Regions from separate parts of the Homo sapiens genome. Here all the other regions are linked to region 1. Evidence: promoter capture Hi-C in human tissues and cell types (Jung and others, 2019). All regions are on one chromosome and are shown on one strand. Each heading gives the region's core, a stretch centred on a gene start or on the middle of the fragment in contact. The rest is flanking DNA. Distances are from core to core; before and after follow the strand shown. Region 1 holds the start of KDM2A (lysine demethylase 2A). Region 2 overlaps PC (pyruvate carboxylase). Region 3 overlaps PC (pyruvate carboxylase). Region 4 overlaps KDM2A (lysine demethylase 2A).

Region 1 (2,673 bases), core at 125-2,624:
CACAACTCTGAAACAAATTTCAGAGGTGCAAATCAAGGACCAAAATTCCATCTGATCTTTTTGGATAAAGTAATAAAATAAACGATTGCATCTAAGGATACAAGGAAAATACATCTTGTCCAAAAATTAAATAAAAGACCGGCCGGCGCGACGGTCAATCCGTAATACCAAGAAAGGGTTTTCTTTTTTCTAAATATTCTCGTGGATAATGGCTTCCATTGAGAACACAGGTTCCCCCCGTTTTTGTCACTACATTACAGCCACGTTAACAGCATCCTTTCAAAACTGCTACGAGACCAGAGGACCCGATGACACAGTTTGCAGAGCAGTTAGAGGCAGAGCCCTCCCGGAGGAAGCCCTGGCCCGAAGTCGGGAGGGAAACCGTGCTTGCACCCCCTGGGCGACGACCGCCTGGGCATGGAGCAGCCAGGGCCGGAGAGGAAAAAGGGCGAATCTCGCTGGGCTCCCCCAGGAAAAGGCGTTTCAATGGTTCACCCATCGGAAAAAGAGATAGAAACTTTGCATTCAGTCTTTGGATAACACAGTCAACCAAACTTCCAAATGAGGGGGGGGAGGGGGAAACTCACCGGAGATTCTGCTCTTGAGTTCTTGTCCAAGTGAGAAGTAAAAGATTCCAAAGCTGAGAGGAATAATTAAATCCCAAACGTCGTCTTCGGTTTTTCCGTGGATCAACCCAGTATCCAGAGAGGGTCAGAGCGACCAGGAAAAGGGAGCAAACAGTTGCTGAATCAAACCTTCTCTTCTGGCTTTGGAGACCGGGAGTCGGAGGCGTCAGGAGAGAGGAGCGCGACCCCTCGGCGCCGAGCCCGGGGCGCCCCCGCCTCCCCCAGGCCAGCGGTCAGCAGCCCGGGCCCGAGCCCCGGGCCGGCCCCGGCCGCAGGGAGCGCCCTCCTCGCCGTGCCCTCGGCCAGCAGGGGCTGGTCGCCTGCGGGAGCAGCGGCCGATCAGCTGAGACCGGCCGGCCCGAGGCTCCCCGCGCCGCCCCGGCCCCCCGGAACGCGGGCCCCGGCCCCGGGGGGCGGACAGGGCGGGAGCGGCGCGGCGCGCCGGGATGGGGGCCCTGGCTCCCCTCGCGTCTCCCCCTCAGGTCTGGCTCCGCGCTGCGGGACGAGCCCCCCGGCTACTCCCCAGTCGCAGAAGAGGGATTCCGGGGGATGGGCCCCCTGGCGTTGCCCCTCCTCCCGGAGCGTCCCCTGCCCAGGAAAGACAGAGCGGCCACGGGCCCAGCCGCTGGGAAGGTGCTCCGAGAGCCGCCGCCGCCGCCGCCGCTGCCGGGGAGGGGTGTTGTTTCCCTCACACAGGAGGAGCCGCTGAAGCAGCCGCCGCCATTTTGAACCCGTCAGACTCTCACATACACACAGCTCCTCCGAGGCGCACTGCGCAGGCGCCACCTCCCCACCCCTCCTCCAGCTCGCCTCTCCACCCCCCCACCCCCTTCAGGCCTCCCTGCGCTTCTTACCGCTCTCCCGGGCGCGCGTGAACGCGCACGCGTCACTCCCCTCTAACGCGGACACACCGCCGGCGCGCGCACGCGCGGATGCGTCGGCCTCGAATCGCCCGCGCCCCGCGACGCCGACGCGGCTCCCTGCGCCCCCTCGCGTCAGGCCGCCCGCCCTCCCTCCCTCCCGCCAGCCCGCCGCCCCCGCTCCCCGTCGGCGTTCTTCCAGGGCTCGGGCCTGGCTGGCTGCTCGCGCCTGCGCGCAGGGCACCGATCCTCCTCCGCGCGCCCTCCCCCCACACACCCTCACACACACTTCGCCTCTGCGACCCCGCCCCTCGCGGCCAGCTGTGCTGGCCGCCCTCCCCCACCCCCCTGGGAGGGTGGTGACCCCCGACCCCCCACAAAGCACATCACCCCCCCCAAGCAGTGGGAGATCTGCGTCCCCTTCCCCTTCAACCGCCTTTGGCCCCAGGCTGCCCGTCACAGTCACACAACCTGAGGGCCGGGAGGCCTGGGCCAGGGCAACCGATACCCGCCTCAAAGCAGGGTCTCCCGGGGTCAAGCCGCCGGGCTGGGCCCGCGGGACCTGGGCTCCCGGCTCAGGCCTGCCCAGGGCGAGAGGGCGCAGGGAAGGGGCGCATGGCCGCCGGCTGCCCTCCCTTCGCGTGCCGGCCGGTGGGCCGAGGCCGGCTTGCCCGCCATTCCCGGGCAGGCCCCGGCGCCGCCGCCACGGGGCCCGTCTGCCCTGGGCCCGGGGGCTCCTCGGTGCAGCGGCCTGGCCCCGCCTCACCCACTGCTCGTCGCTCCGAAGGGGCAGGAAACAGGAGTAGCATGTCTGTCCTGGGCTCGGCTCCCCGGGGGTGCTGCAGGCGCTTAACAAGGGCGTCCACAGGTACCAGGCGCAGAAGCGGTCTCCGCGACGGCCCGGGGGCGGTGGCGGCCGGCGCGCCCACCGCCGGCCGGAGGCGCCCGGCGAGGTGGCCCAGGAAGCCCCCGCTCCTCGGCCACGCTCAGCTTTCCGCCGCGCCGGTGCCCCCGGCGGCCCGGGTGGGACGTGACCCCGCCCCCGGCGAGTCGGGGCGCCCCCCACGGAGGGGTGCGCGGGCCGCCCCCGGCCCCCGGCCCGACCCTGCCGCCCTGGGCCGTGGCGGGCGCGGGAGGCCCGGCCGGGAAGATGTCTCCTGTTGGTGCGCGCAGCTTCGCGCGGGGGT
Region 2 (2,673 bases), core at 88-2,587, 190 kb after region 1:
TGTACAAACATTGAAATGTATGAGTCTCCTTTTTCCTCTCTCCCCAGTAACCCAGTCCCCTCCCAGGAGGCCACTTCCGGTTAAATTATCTTGTCTGTCCTCTTGGAGGTGGTCTGCCCTTTGAAATAGAAACATATTTCCTTTTTTCTTTTTCTTTTTCTTTTTTTTTTTTTTTTGAGACAGAGTCTCGCTCTGTCGCCCAGGCTGGAGTGCAGTGGCGTGATCTTGTCTCACTGCAAGCTCCGCCTCCCGGGTTCACGCCATTCTCCTGCCTCAGCCTCCTGAGTAGCTGGGACTACAGGCAACTGCCACTATGCCCGGCTAATGTTTTTTGTATTTTTAGTAGAGATGGGGTTTCACCGTGTTAGCCAGGATGGTCTCTATCTCCTGATCTTGTGATCCACCTGCCTTGGCCTCCCAAAGTGCTGGGATTACAGGCGTGAGCCACTGCGCCCGGCTACAGAAACATATATCTATTGTTTGTTTCTCCTGTGCCCTTTCTGCTCCATGCCCTTTTCATTTATCAGTGTATCTTGGAAATCGTCCGATGTCAGCACAAATAAAAAGTCTGCAGTACTCTGTGTGCCATTGCATGTTTTTTTTTCTTCATTTTGCCATTTGTTTATTGCAAAATCCCACACTTAACAGAAGACATGTTTAAAACATATGAGTATGTTAAAACAAAATAGTAAAATGAACATCTATGTTCCCATCCCTAGGTTAAGGTTAGGACCATATAAGCCCCCTATGTTCCCTCCCCGGTTGAAGTCCCTTCCCTCAGCTATTCCTTTTTTTTTTTTTTTTTTTTTTCTTGAGATGGAATCTTGCCACTCTGCTGTCCAGGGTGGAGTGCAGTGGTGCCATCTCGGCCCACTGCAACCCCTGCCTCCTGGGTTCAAGTGATTCTCCTGCCTCAGCCTCCTGAGTAGCTGGGACTACAGGTGTGTGCCACCATGCCCGGCTAATTTTTGTATTTTTAGTAGAGACGAAGTTTCACCATGTTGGCCAGGCTGGTCTTGAACCCCTGACCTCAGGTGATCCGCCCACCTCAGCCTCCCAAAGTGCTGGGATGACAGATGTAAGCCACCACACCTGGCACCCCAGCTATTCTGAATTTTGTGATATTTATTCTCTTGTTCTTGTTAGTTTTCCCACCGATAGCCAACCTCTGAATAACTTATTGTTGAATTTTGCCTGGTTTTGAACACCTGGACATGGAATCCTACAGTAGATTTCTGTGACTTGCTCAGCATTACATTTGTGATTCGTCCATGTGGATGCACATGGCTCTGTTCATGTTCACTGCCGTAGAGCTTTCCATTGAATGAATATCCACAGTGTGTTGATCCTTTCTGTTGCCCTGTTGCCAAGAAGGCCTTGGTCTGCCTTTTGTTTTTTTTCCTCTCTCAGGAATAACCCTGCTGGGAACTTTTTTTTTTTTTTTTTTTTTTTTAAGACAGAGTCTTGCTCTGTCGCCCAGGCTGAAGTGCAGTGGTGTGATCTTGGCTCACTACAACCTCTGACTCCCGAGTTCAAATGATTCTCCTGTCTCAACCTCCCAAGTAGCTGGGATTACAGGGGTGTGCCACCATGCCCAACCAATTTTTGTATCTTTAATAGAGACAGGGTTTCGCCATGTTGGCCAGGCTGGTCTTGAACTCCTGAACTCAGGTGATCCGCCTGCCTCAGGCTCCCAAAGTGCTGGGATTACAGGCATGAGCCACCACGTCCAGCAGGAACATTCTTACATATGGCTCCTGGAACACATGAGCAAGAATTTCTGTGGGGTATAAACTAGGAGTGGAGTTGCTGGCATGTCTAACTCTTCTAGGTTATCCGAAACCAAAGATTTGAGGTTTTGAAAACTAATTTGCCCTTCTCCTGCCATCAGTAGGAGCACTGAGTATTTTCTGATCGCCCAGGTAGTACAACTTTGGACTGCAAGTCTGTGTGAGGGCTGTTTTGTGATTGCAGCTTCTTGGGGGGAGTTTTTTGTTTTTCTACCTGCTTTTGTTTTTCTACCTGCCAAGGATTTAGACAGTTGATTTTTCTTGCAGGTAGCTCTTGGGGACAGGGAAGGGTACATCAAGTTTCTTGGTGGTTCACTGTTACGTTAAGGGAGTATCCTTTGGAAGTCCCAACTTCACTGGGGGTAAGATCTCTTTAGATTTCCCACCGTGGCTGGGCTCTGGGCCGTGCTTCTGTGACCTTTTGAGGCTTTGAAAACTGAAGCTCAGGTTTGCCTAGTTCTGCAAATGCCATCTAGATAAAAGCTTCAGTGTTAACTTACCTCCCTGTTTCTCCTCCTTAGGGTTTTAGCCTGAATGTTCCTTATTTTCTTGCCAGCTTGCCTATGCTTTTAAGACAAAATTTAATCTGGCCAGGCGTGGTGGCTCATGCCTGTATTCCTAACACTTTGGGAGGACAAGGTGGAAAGATCACTTGAGCCCAGGAGTTTGAAACCAGCCTGGGCAACATAGTGAGACCTCCATCTCTGTTTCAAAAAAATATGTAAAAAATAAAAAGAAGGCCAGGCACCGTGGCTCACACCTGTAATCCCAGCACTTTGGGAGGCCGAGGTGGGTGGGTCACTTGAGTTCAGGAGTTCGAGACCACCCTGGTCAACATGGTGAAACCTTGTCTCTACTAAAAATACAAAAATTAGCCGGGCAT
Region 3 (2,673 bases), core at 109-2,608, 170 kb after region 1:
ACGACCTGGCCATGCTGAGTCATACTTAGTCTCTGGGGATGTGTGTCACCTTTCTCTTGTCTGTCACTGAGTGCTGCAGTTACTATGAAGTGACACATGCTGCCCATTTATTACGTTTGCACATCACTTTATGCTGCTTTGGAGCCTCTTCTCATGTACATGCTGTGTATCAATGTGAAATGTATTAATATTAAATCATTAATAATAAGTATATTATTTATTCTGGAAAATATTTGTCTCTTGCAATGTGTGAGGAACCAGAGGTTCAGAGAGACTAGAGACTAAGCGACTTGGTGAGTTTCGGGTGACTGGTGCGTGGCATGTCTGAGGGAGGTTTGGATGCCACACCCACTCCTACCCCTGGATTTTTATGTAATGCAAAGATTATTCAGAAATTACTTTGGTCGAAAACAATTGATTTTCAATTTGTTAAAATTATGAATTCAGAAACCTAGTTATTTTAAGGGCCAGTCTTTTAAGTTTAGCTTATAAGTGTAGCCTATAAATCTTTCTGATCTATTTACGATTCTAGGACATTTTAACAGTCACTTTCAGGGGGCTTTTATTTATTTATTTTTTTTGCGATGGAGTCTCGCTCTGTCGCGATCTCGGCTCACTGCAACCTCCGCCTCCTGGTTCAAGCGATTCTTCTGCCTCAGCCTCCTGAGTAGCTGGGATTACAGGCGCCCGCCACCATGCTGGCTAATTTGTATTTTTAGTAGAGGCGGGGTTTCTTCATGTTGGTCAGGCTGGTCTCGAACTCCTGACTCAAGTGATCTGCCCGCCTCGGCCTCCCAAAGTGCTGGGATTACAGGCGTGAGCCGCCGCCCCGGCCTTAGGGGGCTTTTTGATTAATGCTTGGTCCCATTTGCAAATTTGATGAAACTTCTGAAATGTTTCAATTGAACTTATAAATCATATTCAACTTCAGTTAACTATTTTAATAATTCTTCTGGCCGGGCATGGTGGGTGGCTCACGCCTGTAATCCTAGCACTTTGGGAGGCCAAGGCGGGCAGATCACGAGGTCAAGAGATTGAGACCATCCTGGCCAACATGGTGAAACCCTGTCGCTACTAAAAATACAAAAATTAGCTGGGTGTGGTGGTCACGCGCCTGTAATCCCAGCTACTTGGGAGGCTGAGGCAGGAGAATCGCTTGAACCCGGGAGGCGGAGGTTGCAGTGAGCTGAGATTATGCCACTGCACTCCAGCCTGGCGACACAGCAAGACTCCATCTCAAAAAAATAATAATAATAATAAATAATAATAATAATTCTTCCATTTTTCTGATTAAAAAAACCCTCTAATACCTAAATGACTCTTGTAAATCTAATAAATGAAGCTGAATATTACACTTTTCTTAAACTTTCCTATACCGTTTTATGTTTTGTTTGTTTATTTTTGTTTATTTTGAGACGGTCTGATTCTGTCACTCAGGCTGGAGTACAGTGGCACAGTCTCAGCTCACTGCAACCTCTACCTCCTAGGCTCAGGTGATCTTCCCTTTTCAGACTCCTGAGTAGCTGGGACTACAGGTTCAAGCCACCACACCCGGCTAATTTTTGTACTTTTTGTGGAGACGGGGTTTCACCACATTGCCCAGGCTCATCTCGAACTCCTGAGCTCAAGCAATCAGCCCGCCTTGGCCTCCCAAAGTGCTGGGATTACAGGCGTGATACATTTTAGTTTTTACAATAGCTTTATTGGAGTATTACTGAGATATAATAAGTTGCACATATTTAAAGTATACAGTTTAGTAAGTTTTAACATATGTGTACCCTTGTGAAACCATCACTGCAGTCCAGAGAGTGAACACATTCATCACCTTTGGAATTCCTCCCTCTGCCTCCTCACTCTTCAGGAAACCATGGAACTGCTTTCTGTTACTATAGGTTAGTTTCCATTTTCTGGAATTTCACATAAATTGACTCATACAGTATATATTCTTTTTTCTCTGCCTTCTTTTACTCAGCATAATTATGTTGAGATATGTCCATGTTGTTGCTTGTATTGATAGTTCATTTCCTTCTTTTTTTTTTTTTTAAGACAGAGTCTTGCTCTGTCACCCAAGCTGGAATATAGCGGCGTGATCATAGCTCACTGCAGCCTTGATCTTCTGGGCTCAAGTGATCTCCCATCTCACTGAGTAGCTGGAACTACAGGTGTGTGCCACTACGCCTGGCATATCTATCTATCTATCTATCTATCTATCTATCTATCTATCTATCTATCTATCTTTAGTAGAGATGAGATCTCGGTATGTTGCTTAGGCTTTTTTTTTTTTTTTGAGACGGAATCTCACTCTGTCGCCCAGGCTGGAGTGCAGTGGCATGATCTCGGCTCACTGCAACCTCTGCCTCCCGGGTTCAAGCGATTCTTCTGCCTTAGCCTCCCAAGTAGCTGGGACTAGAGGCGCCCACCACCACGCCCAGCTAATTTTTGTATTTTTAGTAGAGAGGGGGTTTCACCATGTTGGCCAGGCTGGTCTCGACTCCTGACCTCAAATGATCCACCCCACCTCAGCCTCGAAAAGTGTTGGGATTACCTGCGTGAGCTACCGCACCTGGCCCTTAGGCTTGTCTTGAACTCCTGAACTCAAGCAGTCCTTCCCACTTTCCACCTTGGCCTCCCAAAGTGCTGGGGTTACAGGCATGAGCCACTGTTCCTGGTCAG
Region 4 (2,673 bases), core at 93-2,592, 130 kb before region 1:
TGGAATGAGACATGTAATAATACACTGTTTCCCAGCATACTCAGAGCCGTAACGATCTGAGCAAAGTGAACAAACTTCCAGTCTAATAGGAGAGAAGGACTATGCCTAATCTTTTAGTCATCCAGCTCAAAGATTTCCATGGTATCCTATACTACATCTTCTAGCTTTAGTGGTAAATTGATTGCTTAGTTCCCACCAGAGCAATACAAGAAGGAGTGACTTCCTGTCTTTCTAAGAGCTCAAAATGCTGAAGAGAACAAGGGCTTATAAGGAGCTGACCAAAGTAACATCTGACTCAAATTTCCTCTTTAGTGGTTATGCTGAGGAGAACTGCAGGGCTGGCAGCAACACTGATTCCGTTCTCTTTGCTGTCCATTGCAGTGATTGGCCTGCCAGTCCAGAGTGCTGCCTGGGAGACTGACACTTAAGATGGCCCTGGGTAAACCTCTTGCTAAGCAACAATGGCATGGGACTGCTGCCCTACACTGCCCTCCAGTGATGCTAAGAAGCACTGCCAATAATGCAACTTTTCTTGCCCGCTTCTTCTGGGCCCCTGGAAAGACAGCGGCAGGGCTGCTCACTTACCTGGCAGCCTATTGACGAGCCATGTCAGTTGCTTTTTAGAGATGTTGGTCCAACTGAGGTCAAGGCTGACTGGCTGCCTCTTGATGATGCCACTGAGGGCCTGGGGCACAATGGCCTTACACCTACTCAAGTCAATTTTTGTCCAAAGTCTCTTGTCGCAGCACCTGTGATAGAAGGGAAGAGAACTCGCCTTCATTAACTTGATCAGTGGAGCTCCCATCACAGGCTGCTTATGGCTTCTGGGAAAAGCAGAGTACCTGGAGGCTCGTTCTTCTACAAGTGTACAGGGATCACACCTTATCATTTTTTGCCTCACAGAATAGGCAAAAAATTGCCTTGAACTCTACAACAACTAGACGCTTTGCAAACCTACATGTTGATAGTATATAACTTGACCACTTTACCCTGATTTATTCTGGAGTGTTTGAGAACACAACAGTTGTTAGGGACCCATAGCAAGCAACAGTCTATAGCCCCTTCATCTGTATTAAAATGGCATGGTTCCTGCTGAAGTGTATATAAGGGAGCCTCTTGAAGTTTCTAGACTTCTTACTGTCTAAAGCTAAGAAGGCCTGCTCCGTTCCCTCCCTTGTCAATCACTCGCAGCTGCCTGAAATGCAGGGTGCTACTCAGCACATCCACAATTCACCCTGCCTTCAGCCCATTACTGTATCAGGTCAAAAGAGGCTCTTTATCAGGCTTACAGAGTCCTCTCTCACCCTCAAGTTCTGCCTCAGTGCTATCCTGACATTTTCTAGCCAGGCCAGACCAGAACTGAAAGGGATAGGCCTGGCTTTCCACTGCAGTCTACAAATCTACAGGCCACAAACCACAACATGCTGGCTTCAATTTAATATTTTATAGCCCCTGCCCCCCAGCCTGGTTGGCAGGGGAAGAGAGACAGCACATAACGGGAATCTGATGTGCCTTGCCCTGAAAACCAAGAGGTAGAGCCAAGCAGTCCTATTAGCCCTAGACAGAGAAATATTAAGGAGAATTTAGATACACTATACATTAATTCAGATTTGGGAAATAAACTCATGTTTGCAAAGAATAGGGTCTATTTAGAGACTGAAACAATTTTACCAGTGGCACATGAAGCTTCTATGGCAGAAGCAAGCTGCTGACAATACAGCAGATTTTGCTGCTCTAAACTCGAGCATGCATCAGAGTCCCCTGGAGGAGCGCTTGTTAAAGCAGACTGCTGGGCCCACCCAAGAGGTTCTGATTTAAGAGGCCTATGAGGGTCCTGACAGTTGACATTTCTAAAAAGTTCCTGAGTGAATGCCATTGGTCAGGACACCACACTACTGTAATAGGATGTGTGTGACCCAGATAAAAAGGATATATCCTAGAGTAAATATATACCAGAGTTTAAGGAAAAACCAACAATGCCCAATGGGAAGCTCCTTGTTCATCATCACTAGCAATTTTTTCCCCCAAGTGTCTGTCCAACTTAAGAAGAAATGGTAGCTCTCATTAAGGAAGCTTCAAAACTGGACTCTGCTTGCTGGAAGAGGGAATTCTGATCCAGGTTTGGGGGGATGAGCATTAAAACTGAAGAAAAATGTTAAGCACCTTCAAATTCATCTTGAAAAGCATGCCCACTTCTCTCACTGAATGGAGAGGTAATTGAGTCAGGGGCTTAAGTGAGGTTATCTGTGTTATCAGCACCAGAAGAGTGACTAGAACATCATAGGCTCTCAACCAACATGTGATGAGTTCAGCTGACTTGAGGAGGAAATTTTCAGCCCGCAAGACTCTCAAGTTTTATCACAGACTACAAATCTATCCCGCAAATCAGTCTCCCTCCCCATAACAATGAGACATGGGAAAGTATAGAGCAGGGCCAGGAGGCAAATGGCCAGTTCCCTAATGACATCTGCGGGTACAACAGGCTACATCTTTAAACAGGACCCAAAGTTTGGGAAAAAGGGTCAATTCACTCCTCATAAGACCCCACAGGCTTTCAGATGCCAAGGTGCATGCTGTTCTCATATGGAAAACCTGCCACCTACTCCCATACCCCTAATTCCTGACCCCCTGAATCCCTGCTCACCATTTATACCACGTCTTGCACACTCGCAT

The links. The method cuts DNA at HindIII sites, captures the fragments that hold promoters and counts their contacts. A contact is called where the count stands out against the background at its distance.
Region 2: a contact is called between a fragment that was not itself captured here and the fragment with the promoter of KDM2A in region 1, in 1 of the 25 tissues and cell types used here (IMR-90 fibroblasts).
Region 3: a fragment that was not itself captured here is called in contact with the fragment with the promoter of KDM2A in region 1 in 1 of the 25 tissues and cell types used here (dorsolateral prefrontal cortex).
Region 4: a fragment that was not itself captured here is called in contact with the fragment with the promoter of KDM2A in region 1 in 4 of the 25 tissues and cell types used here (IMR-90 fibroblasts, dorsolateral prefrontal cortex, hippocampus and 1 more).

What each region holds. Positions count from the first base shown.
Region 1 is chr11:67,117,964-67,120,636 of GRCh38, reverse strand. KDM2A (lysine demethylase 2A) reads right to left here and starts at 1,374. Exons shown (of 21, transcript NM_012308.3): 1 at 588-1,374. LOC107984341 (a long non-coding RNA gene) reads left to right here and starts at 2,289. Exons shown (of 2, transcript NR_160735.1): 1 at 2,289-2,673. RefSeq lists silencers at 233-322, 848-987, 1,168-1,237, 1,378-1,817, 1,998-2,277 and 1 more and an enhancer at 1,888-1,937. The HindIII fragment of the contact is 11,710 bases long and covers 1-2,673 here.
Region 2 is chr11:66,929,522-66,932,194 of GRCh38, reverse strand. All of the region lies in intron 3 of PC (pyruvate carboxylase), which reads left to right. Among named protein-coding and RNA genes, the nearest start is that of MIR3163, 3.6 kb to the left of the region's middle. The HindIII fragment of the contact is 5,380 bases long and covers 1-2,673 here.
Region 3 is chr11:66,947,577-66,950,249 of GRCh38, reverse strand. All of the region lies in intron 3 of PC (pyruvate carboxylase), which reads left to right. Among named protein-coding and RNA genes, the nearest start is that of PC, 9.5 kb to the left of the region's middle. The HindIII fragment of the contact is 7,176 bases long and covers 1-2,673 here.
Region 4 is chr11:67,250,770-67,253,442 of GRCh38, reverse strand. It overlaps KDM2A (lysine demethylase 2A), which reads right to left. Exons shown (of 21, transcript NM_012308.3): 17 at 2,645-2,673; 18 at 586-749. Among named protein-coding and RNA genes, the nearest start is that of GRK2, 14 kb to the left of the region's middle. The HindIII fragment of the contact is 4,594 bases long and covers 1-2,673 here.